Linked DNA regions of Homo sapiens: region 2 is linked to region 1. The links are contacts of gene promoters, found by promoter capture Hi-C in blood cells and fetal thymus (Javierre and others, 2016). All regions are on one chromosome and are shown on one strand. The core of a region is centred on a gene start or on the middle of the fragment in contact, and the rest is flanking DNA. Distances in the headings are between cores, read along the strand shown. Region 1 holds the start of COX6A2 (cytochrome c oxidase subunit 6A2). Region 2 has its middle 9.9 kb from the start of KRABD5.

The links. Contacts are between HindIII fragments. The CHiCAGO score rates a contact against its expected background, and 5 or more counts as called.
Region 2: a contact is called between a fragment that was not itself captured here and the fragment with the promoter of COX6A2 in region 1, in 1 of 17 cell types (erythroblasts). The highest score is 5.1, in erythroblasts.

The regions. Positions count from the first base shown.
Region 1 is chr16:31,426,303-31,429,847 of GRCh38, forward strand. It overlaps COX6A2 (cytochrome c oxidase subunit 6A2), which reads right to left and starts at 2,058. Exons shown (of 3, transcript NM_005205.4): 1 at 1,951-2,058; 2 at 1,713-1,849; 3 at 1,429-1,555. The coding sequence starts at 2,023. The coding sequence ends at 1,472. It overlaps ITGAD (integrin subunit alpha D), which reads left to right. Exons shown (of 30, transcript NM_005353.3): 30 at 1-203. The HindIII fragment of the contact is 1,386 bases long and covers 1,433-2,818 here.
Region 2 is chr16:31,701,795-31,704,863 of GRCh38, forward strand. It overlaps the pseudogene CLUHP3. Among named protein-coding and RNA genes, the nearest start is that of KRABD5, 9.9 kb to the right of the region's middle. The HindIII fragment of the contact is 2,676 bases long and covers 295-2,970 here.

The sequences.
Region 1 (3,545 bases), core at 808-3,307:
TTTTTCAGCAATGACCCACTTTTTACAGAAGCAGGCATGGTGCCAGCATAAATTTTCATATGCTTAAGAATTGTCACATGAAATGAGGATGTTTATAGCACACTTTCCTTGCGTGGAAGAGCTATAACCCAGGGACCTGAGTGCCTCTCTGGGAATAGTCGGGGGAACCTATTTGTGGGCATTGAAAAAGTTTTTTCACTTTCTATGGTGATGGGAGCCTGAGGTCATCTTTTCTTGATGGGGCTGAGAGGTGTGTATCAGGGGAGAGGGTCAAAGAGTGTGTGTGTGTGTGTGTGTGTGTGTGTGTGTGCATGTGCATGCACGTGCACGCAGGCATGCATTGGTCATGGGTTTCTTCACACACTTCAGGTTCCTCTGTAATGGTAAGTGGGCAGGCTGTCCTAGGAGGTGAAGAAATGTCCAGAGCTCATTTGAACTCCTGTCCCCCTTGAATGAGGTACTCAGAAGCCAGGAGAGCCAGGCTAGGAGCATGTGATTTCCCATATAGAAGACTCATTAAGAAAGATTATAGGCCGGGCGCGGTGGCTCACGCCTGTAATCCCAGCACTTTGGGAGGCCGAGGCGGGTGGATCATGAGGTCAGGAGATCGAGACCATCCTGGCTAACAAGGTGAAACCCCGTCTCTACTAAAAATACAAAAAATTAGCCGGGCGCGGTGGCGGGCGCCTGTAGTCCCAGCTACTCAGGAGGCTGAGGCAGGAGAATGGCGTGAACCCGGGAAGCGGAGCTTGCAGTGAGCCGAGATTGCACCACTGCAGTCCGCAGTCCGGCCTGGGCGACAGAGCGAGACTCCGTCTCAAAAAAAAAAAAAAAAAAAGAAAGAAAGATTATAGAGAATTATCAAAAGATTCCAAATCCAGCATTAGGTCCCAAGGCCTCACACACAGGACTGTGGAGCCTCCGTCTGAAATCCAGAGAGCTGGGATTCACAGACACCAGCAGCTCAGGTGTCAGGCAAGAAGTGGGACTTCAGGATCTGCAGCCCTGGGCTCCCATGGGGGCTCTGCCGAGCTGCCGGAACTTGGACAAGTCATTTAATTCCCAAGAATCTCAGGTCTTCCTCGGGAGAAGGTGAACTAAATTTATACCCTGCTCCCAGCGTTACTGTGAGGATTCGGTGTACGCGGAAGCCCATTACAGCCTAGAGCCCTAATTATTAATAGGTGTGTGTGAGAGGGAGGCCTCATTATTACCAGGTGAGAGACAGGGAGCTGGGATCGCCTACCTGTGAGTGGAGGAGGCTCCCTCGAGCACCTCCGTATCAGCGGCGTGGGAAAAGCACGTGGAGCGCCCACCGCGCTAGGCGCATGCGCGGAGCAGGAGCGCTTACCAAGCTGGGCGCATGCGCGGAGCGGGCGCCTCTGGGCGCGCTCCCCGTGGCCCCGCCCTCCCCACAGAGCCGCAGACTCGAAGCTTCACACCTTTATTGTGTCCGGGGGCGTCCGGGGCCTCAGGGGTGTTCGTAGCCCGTGGGCAGAGGGTTCACGTGGCTATTGTGGAACAGAGTGTGGTTGCCGTCCCCCCAGGGGTAGGGCTGTGGAGAGAGCGGGGGAGGGAGCGCGCGTGAGCGCCGTGAGTCCGGAGTCCGCGCCCCGCGCGACCCCCCCCCCGCAGCACCCCCCCCCGCCCCCGCAGCACCCCCCCCCGCCCCCGCAGCACCCCCGTGCCGCCCGCGCGCCCGTCCCGCGTACCTTGGTGCGGATGCGGAGGTGTTGGTAGGGACGGAACTCGGGGCGCGGGCGGTGGCCCGAGTGGAGATAGGAGTTGAAGGTGCAGAGGGCCACGCTGGGCAGCGCCAGCACGAAGGTCAGCAGACGCCAGGTACGAGCTGCGGACGGAGCGGGGTGAGCGCGGCGGTCCTGGGGCGGCGGGCCTGTGAACAGGTGGGCAGGGTAGGGGAGCCCCCGGATCCGCCCGTTCCCCACTCACCTCCTGCTCCTCCGTGGCCTCCTTTGGCAGCGCTGGCCAAGCCCCGGGTCAGGGGCCTCAGAGGCAAAGCCATGATGGTGCGGGGAGCCGGGAACCAGCGCTGTCCTCGCTCCCTTTCCTGGGGCCTGGGGTCACCTCCCCTCTCTGGGCCAATCACCTGTTGAGTCTGGAGCACTGGCGGCTATTCTTAGGGGTTTCTATATTTAAAATGGGGCCTGACTGGCTTGAGGTCATCTCCAGACAGCTGTTGTCCTGTGCCTCTTATTTTGGCAAGGAGGCATTTAAGTACAATATGCCATTCTTTTTATATAGTTGCAGGGAAACTATTTTGTTCCCTATTCTATGCCTGGTGGCTGGCACACAGTTGGGCTTTAATAAATATTTGTAGAATGAATTAAGTGTCTTTTTGAGTCTCAGTGTTTTCAGCTGTAAAATGTATAATAATTCGTACCTTAAAAGATTTTTTAAATACTGGAGACGGGGATCTCACTATATTGTCCAGGCTGGTGTGGAACTCTTGAGCTCACGTGATCCTCCCGCCTCAGCCTCCCACAGTGCTGGGATTACAGGCATGAGCCACTACACGGCCCTTACATCATTTTTATGAAGTTTATGTAAGGTAGGAATGTGTCAACCTGGATTTTGGCAGGTAACAGTAGTTCAGTATATGTATTAGTCACAGTTCTTTGCAAAGAACAGAACTCACTCTTACTAGTTTTAGAAGATAAGTAATTGAGAATCTTAGGTAGCTTACTATGTCTGATATAGCCAGAGATGCCTACAGTCTGCACAGTCATAAACAAGTCATTCCGTTGGCCAGCTGCAGTGACACCCCCACAGCTCACACTGCTGGACCCTGGATGCCAAAAGCTTCATTAAGGCTGCCCTGGAAAACCAGAATTTTCCACCCTCATCCCCTCTTGAAAACAGATTCTTCATGAAACCTGTATCCTGGGTCGCTCTTTTCTGAAAGAATTATGTGATTGCACCAACTGGCAACCCCTAGGTCCCCCAGCTGCAGGAGGGGATGGGAAACTGAGCTCTGGATTCTGCCTTAGGGAGGCAGGAATTGTAGGGAAAATCTCCAGGTCTAGGATGAGTATTCAAAAGGTTCCAGGCAGCCACAAGCCTGACAGGTGTCTACTGCAAAGTGCATTATTTCAATCTGAAAAATATGACTACTTGGAGAAAGCAAGCCTAGACAGGGCTGGTGTGAACCCTCTATCAAAGCAGGTCACAAGAAAGCCACAAGACCAGGCAGGGATGACATCTGCCTGTTCTGTCCTCAGCAACGGGCAGGGACCTTGGCATGAAGGAGGTGTTCTAAAAATATGTATGTAATGAATGCTTGAACCTTGTTACTTTGGTTAACCCTACAACAATGCCTTTTCAGAATTACAATCCAATAGGAAGCTTCTAGCTTTGATCAAGGGCTGATGTACTAATATGAACTTAATATACAAAAGAAGAATGAATTATATAGACATATAATCTGAATTTAATATATAAAAAAAACGAGGAAGATATATTTTCAAGAAGGGGCTCTATACCTGTTTCTCATTGGTAATAAACTGAACAGTATGTTCCATCCAACT
Region 2 (3,069 bases), core at 383-2,882, 280 kb after region 1:
TTCCCTCCTTCTGGGGCTCCACATCCTTCATTCACTGATCTCTGGGAAGGAGGATGGGTGGCAGGTAGGCAGCAATAGTCTACCTGTAGACACTTTCACCTAGGCCTTGAAGGATGAGTCAGTGTTTGCCCGACAGACTGAGATGTCAGGGGCAGCATGGAAAAGCAGAGAGGTGGGAGGGCAGGTTTCAGGTATTCTCAGTCCTCTGTGGTTTGGGGAATGTAGACCTAAGTGCAGGAGCCGGCAGGAGCTGGGGTTGCCTTTAGGCTGGTGCCTGAGAACACGGGCTTAAGAAGCTTGATTTTGGCTGGGTGTGGTGGCTCATGCCTGTGATCCCAGCACTTTGGGAGGCTGAGGCAGGCGGATCACCTGAGCTTAGGACCAGCCTGGCCAACATGGCCCCGTCTCTACTAAAAATACAAAAATTAGCTGGGCGTGGTGGCACATGCCTGTCCCACCTACTTGGGAGGCTGAGACAGGAGACTCTCTTGAACCCAGGAGGCGGAGGTTTCAGTGAGCCAAGATCACACCACTACACTCCGGCCTAGGCAACAGAGCAAGACTCCATCTCAAAAAAAAAAAGCAGCTTGGTTTTGTGAGCAGTGTGCTTCTTAGAAGGGTTCCAAGGGGCATTCTTGAAATAGGAGATGGGAAATTGAGGTTGGGTGACTAGATAAGTGGTGGGGGGCCTTCACACGCTGAGACCAGTTTGTGGAGGAAGATGAATTTCATCCCTGCAGGATGGGTCTTCCATGATACTGAAGGGAGAGCCACATGTTGATGCCCAGGACCAGCTGCCTCCTTGGTCTGAAAGGCCTGATCGAGGCCAGGATTGGCTATGAGAGCTGGGAAATGGGACCATCTTTGAAGCCATGGGAGAGGGTGAGGTGAGAATGAGGAGAGGCTGGGGGGCCCAACACTCCCAGCTCAGGACTGGAGGAAGAGGATGGAGCTGGAGAGGGAGGGACGAGGGTGTGGCATTGGTCAGGGAGGAGGAAAGGAAATGAGCAGTGGCCTGGGTGCTGGTGAGTGGACAGATGTACCTGGGCTGGAGAAGCCCCTGGGGCTTGGCCCTGAGGGTGGCCTTGGTGATGTGGGGAGAGTGGTTTGGACAGCGAGCTCAGGTGGAAGCCAGACTGTGGTGGGCTAAGGAGCAGTTGAGGAGGGAGGCACAGGATGTGAAAGGGAGAAGGTGCAGCTTGCAGGTGTGCCGAGGGTGAGCTGGGACTGTGGAGTCAAAGCTCTGGAGGGCACGCGGACACCGTTCCATATGACTTGTGTCCATCCAAGTGGGGTGAGGTGGACAGCCCTCCCTCACCAGCAAGGCCCAACCAACTCAGTGCCTTTCTTGTCACCCCCAGAGCCACCATCACTCATGTTCTTGAATGGGAACTGCCTGGAGACCCTGAAGAAGAAGGAGCCTGAAGGAGGAAGGAGGAGGCTGAGCCATCCCGGGAACATGGGCTGGATGAGGCCAAGCCAGGAGACGACACCACCAGATAGAAGTCACCATTCAGGATTTGGACTTTTCTGTGGAGATCCTGGCCCCGAGATCGAACCCTTCTCCCTGTGGGTATGATGGAGGAGGGGATCTGGGGACCAGGGCTTGAGCCTGCTGGGGAAGATGATGCTGGAAAACTCAGCCTTGCCCTGGCTCTTTCTGGCCCTGTGCTATAGGCAGGAAATGGAGGGCCCTGGGCCCTGCCCGGGGTCACTCTGCTAATGTGGTGGACCTGGGAATGGAGTCCGGGTTCAGTTACTGCCTTATTGCTAGAGGACAGCTACCAGCTGGGCCTACCAGCCCTGTTCAGGGAGAGGAGTGGGAATGGGTGGGTAGTGTCAGGTCCCAGGATGCCCCAGCCTCTTGGCTCTGTGCCCTCAGGCAAGTCACCTCTCTATGGGCCATGGCCTTACCATCTGTCACCGGGGCCTGGAGGGTGGTATTGGGTGTTCTCCAAGGACAGAGCAAACCCGGAGGACTTGCAAGCTGGTAACTTGGTGGGGAGCCTGGCAAGACCCTCTCATGTCCTCTCTACTCACAGGCTTGGGCCCTGGAGCACCCCTTCAGGAAGGAAAAGGCCATTTGCCCTGGGGCACTCAGCCCTTGGCACTAGGCAAGGGCAAGAGCAAGCCTGCCGTTCCCCCTCCCCACTTTCTTCCATCTCCCTCTCCTTGGCTCGGGGGTTGCTCTTAGGCTGCAGGAAGAGTCAGTGGGGCCAGGCTCTGTCCTGCACTTAGGCACACAGGTGCCAATGGGCATGCTGTATATGGACAGGGCCTGGAATGTAAAAGCCCAAAAGTGGGAAACTGAGTATTTGAGACACTTATTCTCAGGACCCAGGTGTTTTGGGCTGGGGAAGGGGTATGTCCTTGCTCCCTACCATGTGGCCTCTGACCGGGCTGGTCCGGGCCTTCTCCCTGGCAGGTGTTCCCGCAGGAGATGGTGCTGGAGATCCACCAGCTGTTCATGGACCATGAATACCCATGTCACCACATCACTTCTCACTGCACCTGGGTGGCAGCACACTGGACCACGTCTCAGAGCTGCGCAGCATGGCAGGGCTGCAGGCGGGCTTGCTGCTCCACGTGGTGGAAGGTTGGTCTGGAAGTTGGGCAGCCTGCCCAGGGAGGGCCCCTGTAAGCAGGGCCGGGCAACACTGCACTGCCCCAGCTGGTGTCTCTATTTCGCAGATGAGCATATGGAGGTGGGATTGGAGCACAAGTCTGCTTTTCAGGGCATCATACCTGCACTCTCTAACTTCATGGCCCAGGGGTGAAAAAACAGTTGAAATTCTGAAAAGAAAGTCAGGCAGTATGAAGCTAGGGCTTGGAATCCGCCCTATTAAATTATGAAAAGATGAGTGCTTAGTTTCCTAAAGAAACTAAAGTTTCACAGTCCTTGAGTGGGGAAGTCGGCTCCAAGCAGCACCATCAGCTGGTGTAGTGAGCCTGGCTTGGTTGTCAAATAAAAGCTTCCGTAGACTCAAGTTCTCTGGGTGAAGCACTCAGGTTCCCAGGGCCTGACTACTTGTGGAAAAGGTCTGTAGCTCAAGGGGGCCCACAGTTCAT